Regions from separate parts of the Homo sapiens genome. Here all the other regions are linked to region 1. The links are contacts of gene promoters, found by promoter capture Hi-C in blood cells and fetal thymus (Javierre and others, 2016). All regions are on one chromosome and are shown on one strand. Each heading gives the region's core, a stretch centred on a gene start or on the middle of the fragment in contact. The rest is flanking DNA. Distances are from core to core; before and after follow the strand shown. Region 1 holds the start of SLC22A4 (solute carrier family 22 member 4). Region 2 holds the start of FSTL4-AS1 (FSTL4 antisense RNA 1). Region 3 holds the start of ZCCHC10 (zinc finger CCHC-type containing 10). Region 4 overlaps UQCRQ (ubiquinol-cytochrome c reductase complex III subunit VII). Region 5 has its middle 4.8 kb from the start of SOWAHA.

Region 1 (2,817 bases), core at 213-2,712:
GAGGCAGAGGAGGGACTAGCAGCAGGGAAATCCTACCTGCCTGACCAATAGCAGGCAACAGCTCCATGAGGATGCTCTCCTCAGAAGAAAGGTGTATCCTGACCCAGGTCCTTACCAGATGTGAAGCAGCAAAAGCGGGAGAAGTGTGTGTGCATCCTCATTCCTGGAACTTAGAAAACCTGCCACTAACCACGCAGGGTGCTGAGGGGCTACAGCCCCTGCCTGCCAACTCACCCTGTGCTCAGAGAGGTCCCTGAGGGCCAGGGCTTCCAGCTGGGGTTTCGCCTTCTGTGCTTCCTTGCACCCAATGAGCCTCAGGAGGCCATCTGCTGTCTTAGAGAAACTGGGGCCTCAGGAAAGGACCCCAAACCTCACAAGTATATGGTACGGCAGTACACCTCCTGATGCCTCCAGAAGTCTGTGGCCAGGGAACAGACAAGATTTGGCCCCGCCCTGCCCAGTAACAAGGTCCCTCACACCCCTCCTCCCATGCCTGGCAGGAAGGTGACTCAGGCAGTGCGTCTGGGTAGCCTGGGGCTGCGCTTCCCCCAACGCAACATCTAGGTTCTTAGGAAACTTCATTTGTTGTGAAAATCGGAAATGAAAAGACAGTTGGTGACAAACTCCTTTCTCCATCACCTCCTTATTGGACAGAAACGACCCAGGAATGCGCCTCGCGTGAGTCCTATTCTTTCTTGGGGTGCACACCCGCTGCTGGAAGTATGAACAGCAGGTTTGAGGGGGAGGGGAGCGCTGACCCGGGCACTGCGCAGGGAGTCTCAAGGGGGGCTGACGCAGAGGGAGGGTCAGGCACTCCCGGGTCAACGGTCTCGGCCTGGCACCCACCTCGGTCACGACGGTGGACAGGTAGACGTCCTGGCTGAACTCCCAGCCATCCAGGCAGCTCTCCTGCTCCAGCTGCCCCAGGTCCACGTCGCGCCCCGGCTCCAGCCCGAGCGCCGAGAAGTTGGCGATGGTGGCGAGCCGGTAGCGGCTGCAGCTGTGGGGCACCTCGCGGCCGTCCCGCAGCCGCAGCGGGACACTGTTGTTGCGCCAGGCGCTGCTCAGGTTCGCGGCGTCCGGCACTCGACAGCGGTGCTCCGGGGTCCCCGCCAGGAACACGACTGACATACCATTGAAGCCATTGGGGATGATGCTGGCGCTGAGCAGGAAGAAGATGAGGCGCTGGAAGGGCCCCCACTCGCCCAGGAAGGCGATCACCTCGTCGTAGTCCCGCATGCTTCCCACTGCCGCTCCGAAACTTGCAACTACGGGTGATGACAGCGTTCTCAGGACAGTGTCTTGTAGCTGGGGCGCTCCCCAAGGATGTTAGAACGTTCCCGGGGGACAGGCAGGCTGTTAGAAATTGGGGCGCGAAGCCGGGGACCGTTCCTGGGAAACAGGCTGAAGGCGTTGGAGCGTTCCCGGGAGCTCGCGCTGAGCTTGATGCCACTGTACACTTGGGACCACACCCCCATCCCCGGCCGGGCGCGGGGAAGGGGAGGGCGGCCCAGCCCGGGAGGCTGGGCTCCCGGCTGTCTCCGCCCTGTGCTTCGCGCGCCCGCCCGCCCCCAAGGACCTGACGGGGGCTTCCAGGCTGGGCTCAGCCATTCCGCCCGCGTGCCGGGGAAGAAGCTCGTTCTCGGTTGTCCCCAGCCACCCCCGAGCGCTGATTCCCAGACCTGGGCCCCACGTGGGAGGGCGGGCGCAAGGGAGGAGCCGAGGCCAGAGAGCGAGTTCTCGGAGGGGTCGGCCCTCGATCTGCTCGGGCCGCGTGGCCCCGGGCCCAGACCCCAGCAGGGTTCCCTCCGCGGTCTCCTCCAATCTGGAGGCTGAGCTTAGGCTGCCACGCGTGGGGCGCGGAGGGGCGAGTCAGTGGAGTCGGTTCCCGGGAAACTTCTGGGGGCGGCAGAGCGACAGGAGCGCGCCCTCTCCTGTGGCGCCTCGCGCAGGCGGCTGGCACACGCCGACAGGGAGCTCATTTCCCAACAGTCCTAGCAGAGCTGAATTCGGTCACCCCTGGCGGCGCCCGGACAGCGTCCTCAGGACAGCCAGGACCCTCATCTTGCACAGGGAAAACAGGCCCACAGCCTGGAAGGGATGAGCAAGGTCACACTACGTCAGAGATGGGCCCGGATCGGAGGGAGGGGCGGGGGCAGGAGACAACCGAGTGCCCGGGAGGCGAGTTTCCTCCCCCGCACGCCGGCGTAATGGCTGAGCCCAGCCTGGAAGCCCCCGCCGGGTCCATGGGCGGGCGGGCGCCAGGACATGGAGCCTGCGCATTGCGGGAGCACAGTCATGGAGGCACTGTCGTCACGCTGGGTTCTGATTTTGAGCCCCTTGCTCTCCTCACGCCCCCAGGGCCCTTTATCGCGGCAGGCTGTCAGAGCTTTCTCCGACTGGAAGGCTTTCTGTTAGCAGAAGGGCCTGCCCCCAGTCCAGGAACAGAGGGAGGGAGGGAGAGAGAAGTAGGAGATCCGATTTGGCGCTCAGACCCGGCAGGGTAACCAAAGCAGGGACCACAGCCTCCCTTTTTTTGGCTCAGTGCCCAGACCTAAGGCCCTTCTGCTGTTGTGTGAGCTAGCCCGGGCCTGGAGCCTGAGCCCTGGGGTTCACGAGGCAGATAAAATTGACAGGGTGAAGAGCTCACCTCTTTGGAGATTTTGCACGAGTGTGTTTGTTTCCCCAGGCTCCGATTAAGAGGCGGAGGGACATTTCTGCCTCTTTTTGTGTAGCTTCCAGTCTGACCCCTCCTCTTAGGAGGACTTCCCACCCCCTTGGAACCTCAGTTTCCTACCTGTAATAAGACTATACATC
Region 2 (2,817 bases), core at 201-2,700, 960 kb before region 1:
CAGTTAGGATACTCTCCTTTTGCAAATATCTTGAGCAGAGGTATGCCCATCATCTTTGGGTGTAGACTCAGTAGGGTGGGAGAGACCCATAGAGTGGCCAAGCTGACCAAGGCTACCCCACACACAGGAACCAGCGGAGGTGGAAGAGCTGGTATGCAGCACTGTGACAGCCATGCTCCTGCTGACCAGGAGGCCCTGTGCTCTCCACCTCAGCAAGGACCCTTTGCTCCTTCTGATGGATGCCTCTCCTGCCTGCCACACTGTGGCACCCCATGATACCCAGAATGGTGATCTCACAGCCCCTGGGCACTGAGTTCTGCTCTAACTTCCTGTTCGTCTGCACACAGCAGTCACATTGAGGTTTAGTTTTCTCAAAACTAAAAAGGTGTATTGGCCAGAGGAGGCTAAATGGAACCCCAGAGCCTAGAGGGATGCCCAGGTAACCCTGCCCCTGCACAGGCCGGCCCCTCCTGCAAACAAGGAGGATACTACATCAGACTAGGATGTCTCGATAGCAGGACACAGGTCTGCCAGGCACACAGGGAGGGCTCTACCAAGAAAGAGGGCAACCAGGCTTTACAGGAGTCACGGGCCCTTAACCTGGGGTCTGTAGACAGGTTCAGGCCTCTGCTCTCCCTCCCCACTTAACACTTGTCTTCTCTGCTAAGCCATGAGCTCCAGGTTAGCAAGCACTGGGCCTGTTTTTCTTGCCAGTATATTCCCACTGTATCCTGGCTCCTGGTACCAGCTCCATAAATAATTGTTGACTGAGCACTAGCCTAATAGTTCACTTGCTTAAAACTGCTTATTAAGTCCCTTCTGCGTGGTAGGCATTGTATTAGGTGCTGGGGATACAACATAAATAAAACAGATATAGTCTCTGCCTTTATGCAGCTTACAAAGGTGTTTGTTCACACCAGAGAGCAGAACTTGATAACTAAACTGTAATAAAAGTTGAAGCAACATCAAGCAACATAGGCCAGTTGAAAAAGTAAATTACCCACTGACCCGCAGGTAATTAACTAGTAATTTTATTGCCATCCCCAAAATGAAGCAAGCAAGAGGGAATGACAATGGCAGGAAGATTGAATCTGGTTACACGTAAGGAAACAGGAGATTTGGGACAGATGCAAGTGCTCTCTTGTGTGGCTTTGGAGCAAGTCTGGCTAATACAGAGCCACCTGTGCAGGCTGGATGCACCCTGGTGCTCTAAACAGGAATGTCAAGATGAAAGGCTTTAAGACATCCTGTCCCCAGCCTCCCATCCACAAACATTCAGCAGTTATTTGAAAGGATCCCAGAGTGACAATCTCTGGTAGACGGAACAGAGGAGACAAAAAGCACACCATCCCTCCCACCCGCCTTGCCCGGCTCACCAGGATACGCCAAAGCAGCTTCACTCTGTAAACACCAGCCAAAGTCACAAGGTCCGGGAGATGTTGCCCTGTTTGTTCAGGAGACACTGGGCATGCGCACTCCCCCTTGGCTCCTCCCCTACTCGCCAACTTCACAGTGTGACTCTGGTCACAGGGATGGGACCAGATCAATAGACTTTGTCACTCCAATGCCCCAGCTTCTTTGGTGGCACCTAGGTCACCTGAGGGGTTTGTTTCAGGAAAGCACATTAATTTAGAAGGAGAATAATGTGGGAAGAGGCCGCAGTTAGAGAGATGTGTCTAAGCGCCTGGCCTGTGCTCTCTCCAAATTGCCCTCATTCCCAAGCAGGCCCCTGAGCCTGAGTTTGCCCTCCGAGGCTCAGTCAAAAATATTGATGTGCAGGCAGGTTACTGAGCTTTTGACAGGGTTTTTTTCACCAATGGCATCATTTGAAAAATGGCAAATATCCAAGTAGGAATGTGTTCCATTAGTGTGTTTCTGACATAAGAAAACTAACACCAGCTTGACAAGAATTTGAGAAATTTAATTTCTATCACTACAAAGCACCAGAATCCTGTTTGAGAGGGTGCTGATGGGTTTATGAGTGTCTTATCGAGTTCAAGTCAGTGTGAGAAATAGCGCCTGAGATTAAGGGAAACCTGTAATAGGAACTAAAACCCAGTTCTCCAACAACTGAAATGTTATGGCCTCCTGCTTTCAGGAAGGGTGTTTGTTAGCCTGCTTATGGTAAGCCCATTAATTCCCTGTGACTGCCTCTTCTCTCCAAGCTCCAAGACTCAGGGAGAAAGGTGAGGACGGGTGTTTGTGGCATCTCATGTCTGGAAAACCAAGGGTATGCTACTGCACTGGTTTGAAGGGCCTAGAGAGATAGGTCATGGCCTTGAGCCCACCTACTGTGTGCCATGCCTTGTGCTAGGCACCAGAGTGCCAGACAGCCCTGCCCAGAATCCCACTGTGGGACACGCAGCCTAGCTAGTGGTCCAGGAAGCTCTGTCTTGTGCCAACCAACCCACACTGACTTGGGCCATCACTGCAGTGTGACCCATTTGTTTTCATCCCAGGGGGATATCATGGGAAGCCCTGAGCTTTGAGAACCCCCCAACTCCCTTGCCCTCCTCAGATTCCCTACTTGCAGAGCAGCTCTCCAATGTCAGTTCTCATAGCAGGGCGTCAGTCCCTCTGTGGGCACAGACTTCTGCCCAGTAGTGCCAGACAAGCTCCCTGATGGGCTGCTCTGACCCCCAACCCAGCCCTCTCTTTCCAAAGACACCAGCCTCAGTGTGTAGACACATTCTCACCCCAGACACAGCGTCTGGCTGAGCCCTCTCTCACTGACCCCTGATCACACTCTGAGTGCTGGGCATATCACGTTTGGTCGTCCAGGGACCTTGGAAACCTTCCCACATAGTGGCTAATGAG
Region 3 (2,817 bases), core at 190-2,689, 730 kb before region 1:
GAGATGGGGTTTCTCCATGTTGGTCAAGCTGGCCTTGAACTCCCAACCTCAGGTGATCCGCCCTTCTCGGCCTCCGAAAGTGCTGGGATTACAGGCGTGAGCCACTGCGCCTGGCCGGGAAAACATTTTCATAAGTACACTGAGGAATGAAAAAATCAAGCTGGAGAACACAACATGTAAGAGCCTATTTTTTTGAAGAACAAGTTGTGCTCAAAGGTCACATCATCACCTTCCCTAACTCCTAATCACTCTTTAATCCCTTACTCTGAAATATTTTTCGTTAGAGTACTTATGCCCATGAGAATAGTCTTCATTCATTGTCTGTAGAAAGTTCCATGTGTACACGGATTTTATTTGTTCAAATGCTCTGTCCTCAGCTCCTAAAACATTTTAAGTGTTAATTATTAATTGAAAAAATATGGCTGGGCGCGGTGGCTCACGCCTGTAATCCCAGCACTTTAGGAGGCCGAGGCGGGCGGATTATGAGGTCAGGAGATCGAGACCATCCTGGCCAACATGGTGAAACCCTGTCTCTAGTAAAAATACAAAAATTAGCTGGGCATGGTGGCGCGTGCTTGTCATCCCAGCTATTCGGGAGTGTGAGACAAGAGAATCTCTTGAACCAGGGACCCAGAGGTTGCACTGAGCCGAGATCGCGCCACTGCACTCCAGCCTGGCGACACAGCGAGACTCTGTCTCAAATTAAAAAAAAAAGGAAAAAATATGGATGACCCAGAAACACACACACACTTCAGAAAATTATATATATTTCAGAGAACGTGGGTTTTAAGAGAATAATAGCTCCGTGAGCTGACATTAGATGTAGGTGCAGCTAAAATATTCTAAAATATTTGTATAGTCCTTTTCTGCTTGATAAAGCAGCTTTAGTTATACAGTCCCATTTAGTACTCGTAACAACGCTGTGAAATACATAAAAAACAGAAATAACGTATATGTTTGCACTCCATGGCTTGCTAAAGTCATTCTTTCAATTGATGGTCTCAATCCTGGTCAACTAATTCCTTTCTATTCTCCAGACTACTTCTAGTTTTCTGAACACCAAAGTTTCATTCTTTGTCTTTGTATGTGTATCCCTCGTTCGAGAATGTTGTCCTCATTTTCCACAGATAATGTTCTTGCCTGTAATCATCCTTTGAAACCCTGTTCGGCCCGAGAACCCGAGACCCATACTGGAGACACCGGCCCCTCCCGACCCACCAGTCCCTCCCGTCCCGACCCTCCAGCCCCTCCAGCCCCTCCCCTCCCGACCCTCCAGCCCCTCCCCTCCCGACCCTCCAGCCCCTCCCCTCCCGACCCACCAGCCGGCACTAAGATACCTCCCCTTAGAAGCCTGTCTGGCCCCGCCTACGTCTACGGCCTCCCGGTTGGAAGCCCCGCCCTTCCGAGGAGTTTCCCAAAACCCTGCGCGGCCGGCTTTGACCGCGCTAAGATGGCGACTCCCATGCATCGGCTAATAGCCCGGAGACAAGCGTAAGTAAGGATCCGGTTCGGGTCCACTGGAGGGCTGGGAGCGGGGAAACGCGCGTCAACGGGCTGGTGTCGGACCCCTATTGGGACCGGCGGAGAATGTCCGTTTCTCAAACACTCTTCTGGCTCCCGGGGGGCTCGGGCCCGGGCGATAAGTCTGGTGACCGGGGGTTAGCGATTTCGCGGAAGACAGCCGCGTAAAGTCTGCGGCACGGGACAGAGCGGGGTTTGAAGACAACTGTCGCGTTTGGTTTCTCTGAAAGGAACGCCCACAGTTGGTCACTCAGTGATTTATGCCCCTCCGCCAACCCCACGCGTGGACAGGGGAGCCCTGAAGCCCCGGTCCGACACCTTTATTCCAGCCGACGTAAACCTTCAGTTTCCTATTCAGTGTCCAGCCCAGCTGCCTTTTCCTACTTCCTTATTCTAGCGCCTTCCTTAGGAACACCCTGCCTTCAATGCCGATTGCTTTCCCAGGCTATCTTACCACCTTTTGCTACTCATTCTCTCTTTCAATAAATATTAATTTATTTAGTTCCTACCGTTCTGTGCCAGACATTGGGTATAAATAGAGGTGTTCAAGACAAAATCCTTGCTTTCAGAGAGCTTACATTCTAGTGATGGAAACAGTCGATAAACCACAAATTGTAAATACAGCTGGTGATAACAGCTTTGAAGGAAGTAAGCTGTTGTGATGGAAAGAGGGAAAGGCCCACTTTAGGTTGGTTGGACTGGAAAGGCATCTCTGAAGAGGTGGAATTTGAACAGAGATTTAAAGGATGAAAAAGGAACAGTCATACGAGGATTTTGAGAAAGAGCATCCGGATAGTGGCATAATTGCTTTGAGCCTGAAACTTACTTTTTACAGAACTGAAAGATAGCCATTACGCCTAATGAACAAGAGAGAGTGGCAGAAGAGATTCATAGCTGACAAATAATGCAAGGGTCACCCCAGATGCCCCTTTCTTTTTTTTTTTTTTTTTTTTTTTTTTTTTTGAGGCGGAGTCTTGCTCTGTCTCCCAGGCTGGAGTGCAGAGGTGCAATCTTGGCTCACTGCAAGCTCCGCCCCCCGGGTTCACGCCGTTCCCCTGCCTCAGCCTCCCGAGTAGCTGGGACTACAGGCGCCCGCCACCATGCCCGGCTGGTTTTTTGTATTTTTAGTAGAGATGGGGTTTCACCGTGTTAGCCAGGATGGTCTCGATCCCCTGACCTCGAGATCCGCCCGCCTTGGCCTCCCAAAGTGCTGGGATTACAGGCGTGAGCTACCGCGCGCGGCAACCCCTTTCTTATAAAGCTTTTTTTTCCAACAGCCTTTGCACATCCAGACAT
Region 4 (2,817 bases), core at 89-2,588, 580 kb before region 1:
TTTGTCCACAGCCATCCCATACTTGAGAGACTGTGAAGGCCTCTTCTTGAAATTAAAAAAAAAAAAATTTCATGGATTCTACAATCAAGTATTTTGCTCAGTGAATATACACGTAACTGCATGCTCCTTCATCCAATAGAAAGGCCTAAGTAGCCTTTAACAGTTGCAGCCGTAAGAAGGTAGAATGCTTGGCTGGTAAGCAGTAGCCTGGGGTCTACAGAGTGCAACTGCCCATAGGCCAGCCCTTCCCCTTTTTGGGCTTTAGTCTCCTATTCTGTCAGTTTGGGGGTTCAAATGACTAATTTACAAGAAGAAAATGAGACTGAAGCAGATTTGATAGCTGAGAGCTTGGTAACTCTGGATACAACTCTCAAGAGATTTTATGCTTCTGAGGCAAATGCTTAGGATGAAATGGGAGAAAGAGGGTATAGCTACATGAGCAGCTGTTTGAAACACATTCCAGGTCGATCACTAGGAGTTGGCAGTAATTGGAAACTTTTTGCTGTCCCTAAGCAGGAGGTGCCTAATAAAAGATGAAAGACTCTGAAATGGAAAAACTTTACCAGGTAAAATTTCAACAAAAGGTCAAGGTGTATTTGCTTTTTTGCTAGCTGGAACTGGCATAGACTTTTGGGCCTACCTTAGGCCTGCATTTTGAGGACTGCCTGCAAACTAAAAGAGCAAGGGCATTCCTTTCATCAGACTCTGCAGCCCATAGATAAAAACGCTTGTGGGGGCAGGAGCATTTGGAAAAAGAAAGGTCAAATGGAGCAAATGGTTGTGCCAGAGTAGCAGGTAAGGGATCCATACCCAGGACTGGAGGCTCCAGATGGGTTACCAGCACTGAAGCCCACAGCAGCTGTCTTTCCTTCAAAGGTTTTACTCAGGTTCTCCTCTGAGGATTTCTGCAAATGTCCCCTAAAATGATCCCAGGTCATGTATAGGAGCACTGAACTACTAAAACTCACCACATTCCACACACCCACCACCTCAGCACTCCTGCCACACAGGTGAGATCCATTTCCCCAAGCTTAGAGAGGGAAGCCCTTTGATGAGACACAGGCTTAAAGCAGACTAATTTCATCCAAAGCAGAAGCTCCACACATCACAGGGCTTACGGCAGAGTCATCTCAGTAGAGCACTCCTGGAATAAAAAGAATAGGCTTGGTGCCTGGTTTGGGCTGAGAAAAGGGATTTGGATCTTTTGAGCTGGTCTCTCCAAAGGAGTCAAAGAACCAGGGAGAAATAGTCTAAGTGTAGAACAAGGTGAGCAAGATGGGAGAGGGTGGCCGTCTACTTCGGCGGGTTGGGGCAAACACCAGAGGGAGAAAGACATTAACGGCCTCTCAAAGCAGTGGTCCTCCTCTGGGCTGTGAACTCTTTGAAGCTATGCAAGGTAAGGATGGGTCCACAGTTTTCATCATTCTCAAGTCTATGACCCAAATATGTTGCAAGACCTGGGAATAAATCTGGACAAAGAGGCAAATGGGAAAATTGGACTGTCTTTTGGGGGTGAGGTAGAAGAGTTCCTCAGTTAGTTGCCCTGTGTTAAGCCCGTACCATCTTGCCAGACACTTGTCACTCATTTCACCATCACCACAACCCAAGAACTTTATAATATTTCTATTTTATGGGTGAGAAGCTTAAGGCTCATGAAAGTAGGTTTCTTGCCTATATCACATAATGAGGAAGTGACGGGCTAAGAGGACGAGCCCAAGACTGTAAGACTCAGCCTTTTCCCCGTATCCTGCCTCACAATGTAGTTTATCTTTTAGGTTTTGTTTTGAAGTCTCGCTCTGTCACCCAGGCTGGAGTGCAGTGGCACAATCTTGGCTCACTGCAACCTCCACCTCCCAGGTTCAAGCGTTTCTGCCTCAGCCTCCTGAGTAGCTGGGATTATAGGCGTGTGCCACCACACTCAGCTAATTTTTATATTTTTAGTAGAGACAGGGTTTCACCATGTTGGCCAGGCTGGTCTCAAACTCCTGACCTCAAGTGATCCATCCACTTCAGCCTCCCAAAGTGCTGGGATTACAGGTGTGAGCCACTGTATCCGGCCATGTTTTGAAGTATCTTAACTTTTGATTCTTAAAAGGCAATAGCAGTAATTAGGATAATAAAGATACAGTCTGGCCAGGCACGGTGGCTCACACCTGTAATCCCAGCACTTTGGGAGGTCGAGGCAGGTGGATCACGAGGTCAAGAGATCAAGACCATCCTGGCCAACATGGTGAAACTCCGTCTCTACTAAAAAAAAAAATAAAAATACAAAAATTAGCTGGGTGTGTTGGTATGCGCCTGTAGTCCCAGCTATTTGGGAGGCTGAGGCAGGAGAATCACTTGAGCCCGGGAAGCGGAGGTTGCAGTAAGCTGAGATTGCGCCACTAAACTCCAGCCTGGTGACAGAGCAAGACTCCCATCTCAAAAAAAAAAAAAAAAAAACACAGTCTGACCCAGAATCAAAGTTGCTGCTAGCAGGAAGAGTCCTTAGAAGAGTTTCTAAAAACGGATCTCAGATCCCATAGCATATACTGTACTGACTGAGCTATGACAACTCATCATATTCCACATACCTGCTACCACAGGTGAGATCCATGTCCCGAAGCTTAGAGAGAAGCCTCTCTAAGGAACTAGAGGCATAAAACTGCCAACCACACCTACCCCCACCATCTCTCGGTGGGCGAAGGGAAAATGGTATCTTTAATACCAAAAAGATAATTTAAAGGCTTTAGATCAGGGGTAAACTTTATTCATAAAGGGCCAGAGTAAATCTTTGAGGCTTTATGAACCACATATGGTTGAAAACATTGTTGGCCT
Region 5 (2,817 bases), core at 129-2,628, 510 kb before region 1:
TAGACCGCGTGTTGCTAAGAACCCATGTTACCTTAGTCAAGACTGGTGTGGCGAATGGGCGGAAGAGGGGACCCTGGGGAGGTAGTGGCAGGGTCCAGTGGAAGACGGTAGGGCTTATCAAGCTCGGACAGTGGATGGGTGCCAAAGATACTTCAGAAACAGAACTTGCATTATATTGTCTTGTTTTCACTTTTAAAGTTATATTCCCTTTGTTTTAATTTTCATTTCAATAGCTACTTTTTATATTTTATTTTCCTACCTTTTTCTGGGCCAATTGTTGTGTTCCTTGAAAAGTCATTTCCATGATCTCATAGGTAGTGAAGCTTCAACTTGGACTTTTGTTACCATCTCTTGTCTCCAAGAAGAGAGATGAGGGAGAGCACTCTCTGTTAAAGATCATTATTGATTTATGTGGTTTGAACTAATTTTGACTATGATTGTAACCCCCCAATGGATTAATTTACCTTGCCCACTGCCTAGACAGAGCCGATTTATCAAGACAGGGGAATTGCAATGGAGAAAGAGTAATTCACACAGAGCTGGCTGTGCAAGAAGACCAGAGTTTTATTATTACTCAAATCAGTCTCCCTGAGAATTTAGGGACTGGAGTTTTTAAGGATAATTTGGTGGGTAGGGGGGCCAGTGAATTGGGGGTTCTGATCGGTCAGGTCAGAGATGAAATCACAGGGAGTTGAAGCTGTCCTCTTGCATTGAGTCAGCTCCTGGGTGGGGGCTACAAGACCAGATGAGCCAGTTTACGAGCCTGGGTGGTGCCAGCTGATGCATCAAGTACAGGGTCTGCAAAATATCTCAAGAACTGATCTTAGGCTTCACAATAGTGACGTTATCCCCAGGGGCAATTTGGGGAGGTTTAGAATCTTGCAGCCTCCAGCTGCCTGACTTCTAAACCATAATCTAATCTTTTGGCTAATTTGTTAATTCTACAAAGGCAGTCTAGTTCATTTTGGGAAAGGGCTGTTACCATCTTTGTTTCAAACTATAAACTAAGTTTCTCCCAAAGTTAATTTGGCCTATGCTCAGGAATGAACAAGGACAACTTGGAGGTTAGAAGCAAGATGGAGTTAGTAAGATCAGATCTCTTTCACTGTCTCAGTTATAATTTTGCAATGGTGGTTTCATGATCGCTAAGAGTAGACAAGGATTAAATACTGATTGAACAGGAATTGCTAGTACAAGCCGTTTATTGACAGTGCTTAACAGGCTTCAGGCTCTGAGCTACATAAGGAAACTTGGCCAAGGTCACAGTTAACAATTGGCTGAGCTCAAACTGGAACCCCAGGCTACCTGCCTATGCTCATTTACCATGCAAAGTTAGGTCACTGATGATTTAAAATTGATGTTCTGAATGTTTAATAAATAAAGTAGGGAAAAACTCCTCACAAATACCTTACTTAAACTTTTATTTATGCTTGTGCTTCTGAACATACTCTGCTTTAATATTTTAAGTGATAAGTTTATAGTTTGAGCAAACATTACAGTGAGGATGCTAATGACATCCAGTTCCCCAGGCTGCTTTTCAGTTTTGATGCCCTGTTGCCAGTGAGGCCAGAGAATCAATTCTTCCAGTGACCCAGCAGTTTGCCCGCAACATTAGGAAAATCAAATATAAAATGTATATTTATAGCAAGGATAAAATTCCATGATGTGTCTTGAACATGGAGAATGAAATAGGAAGGCTATTTGTTCTTATCTCAGTATCTTAAATATGAAGCAGATCAGGGTAGAGGCCCTCTGTAATTTTTAAAGCTACAATATTTAAATATAAAATAAAATAATTTCATAATCTTATGCTATGTTACATTACATTTATATTATTATTTTTGAGACAAAGTCTCGCTCTTGTCCCCTAGGCTGGAGTGCGATGGCACGATCTTGGCTCACTGCAACCTCTGCTTCCTGGGTTCAAGTGATTCTCCTGCTTCAGCCTCCTGAGTAGCTGGGATTACAGATGCCTGCCAATGGTATTTTTGTGTTTTTAGTAGAGACAGGGTTTCACCATGTTGTTCAGGCTGGTCTCAAACTCCTGACCTCAGGTGATCTGCCCACCTCGGCCTCCCAAAGTGCTGGGATTATAGGCGTGAGCCATCACGCCTGGTCTGTATTCTGTTCTGTTCTATTCCTTATTCCAATCCACACTACCCTCTGAACCCCATGCCTAGGCCCCACCAAGAGCTGTAGCGGATGCTTAATGTTTGTAAATGTCTTCTCCCCTACCATGGCAGTGCAAATCAGCTCCTTCCATTGCGTTTATCCAACGCAGCCTGCCACCTCTGCCCCCTGGTGTCTCACCAATACATCTCATCTGTAAAGAAGAGTTCCTCCGGTCCCAGGAGGCAGGAGCTCCAGGGACTTGAGGGGGATGGGCTGCCCAGCAGTGGCTGTAAAGGGACTTTGCCCAGATATCAAGCTTTTGCGGTCAACTTCCGGAACAAATCGTGCTTTGTTCTTGCTTCCAGCCCAGGGGAAGCAAAGGGGACCTCTCTCATGCCTGCAGCTTGTTAAGCCCACTTCTCTCTAAGGTCAAAAGAACTTTATTTCTAAATCTGAGTGAAAGTGTCAGCTCACGTGTTTCTGCTGTAGACTGAGTTTTTGACTCTGCAGTTCATTTTTCAGGCTGCTGCTTCTCTGATTGCTCAGACTATTGCTTGGTTGCTAAGTAGGGAGCCACAGACCTGGTCCACGGAGACTTGGAAAGCTGTGTCCTGGCTTCATGAATCTCCAGCAGTTGGTGCCCTTTGCTACCCATCTTTAATCATCCCTTTCAGTCCCTTGCCTTCTCAGGTATGAGGTGTTTTT

What was found. Contacts are between HindIII fragments. The CHiCAGO score rates a contact against its expected background, and 5 or more counts as called.
Region 2: the fragment with the promoter of FSTL4-AS1 here is called in contact with the fragment with the promoter of SLC22A4 in region 1 in 3 of 17 cell types (activated CD4 T cells, monocytes and total CD4 T cells); the score reaches 5.9 in activated CD4 T cells.
Region 3: the fragment with the promoter of ZCCHC10 here is called in contact with the fragment with the promoter of SLC22A4 in region 1 in 1 of 17 cell types (neutrophils); the score reaches 8.0 in neutrophils.
Region 4: a fragment that was not itself captured here is called in contact with the fragment with the promoter of SLC22A4 in region 1 in 1 of 17 cell types (monocytes); the score reaches 5.7 in monocytes.
Region 5: a fragment that was not itself captured here is called in contact with the fragment with the promoter of SLC22A4 in region 1 in 1 of 17 cell types (monocytes); the score reaches 5.3 in monocytes.

Annotation. Positions count from the first base shown.
Region 1 is chr5:132,293,039-132,295,855 of GRCh38, reverse strand. SLC22A4 (solute carrier family 22 member 4) reads right to left here and starts at 1,462. Exons shown (of 10, transcript NM_003059.3): 1 at 847-1,462. The coding sequence starts at 1,239. RefSeq lists silencers at 1,295-1,344, 1,415-1,774 and enhancers at 2,005-2,054, 1,871-2,489. The HindIII fragment of the contact is 9,593 bases long and covers 1-2,817 here.
Region 2 is chr5:133,255,078-133,257,894 of GRCh38, reverse strand. FSTL4-AS1 (FSTL4 antisense RNA 1) reads right to left here and starts at 1,450. Exons shown (of 2, transcript XR_007058939.1): 1 at 1,377-1,450. All of the region lies in intron 6 of FSTL4 (follistatin like 4), which reads left to right. The HindIII fragment of the contact is 11,288 bases long and covers 1-2,817 here.
Region 3 is chr5:133,025,171-133,027,987 of GRCh38, reverse strand. It overlaps ZCCHC10 (zinc finger CCHC-type containing 10), which reads left to right and starts at 1,439. Exons shown (of 5, transcript NM_001300816.3): 1 at 1,439-1,491. The coding sequence starts at 1,451. RefSeq lists a silencer at 1,160-1,289 and an enhancer at 1,370-1,679. The HindIII fragment of the contact is 6,187 bases long and covers 1-2,784 here.
Region 4 is chr5:132,868,758-132,871,574 of GRCh38, reverse strand. It overlaps UQCRQ (ubiquinol-cytochrome c reductase complex III subunit VII), which reads right to left. Exons shown (of 3, transcript NM_014402.5): 3 at 2,728-2,817. Among named protein-coding and RNA genes, the nearest start is that of LEAP2, 3.5 kb to the left of the region's middle. The HindIII fragment of the contact is 612 bases long and covers 1,033-1,644 here.
Region 5 is chr5:132,807,051-132,809,867 of GRCh38, reverse strand. No RefSeq gene overlaps it. Among named protein-coding and RNA genes, the nearest start is that of SOWAHA, 4.8 kb to the left of the region's middle. RefSeq lists a silencer at 1,097-1,391. The HindIII fragment of the contact is 2,105 bases long and covers 326-2,430 here.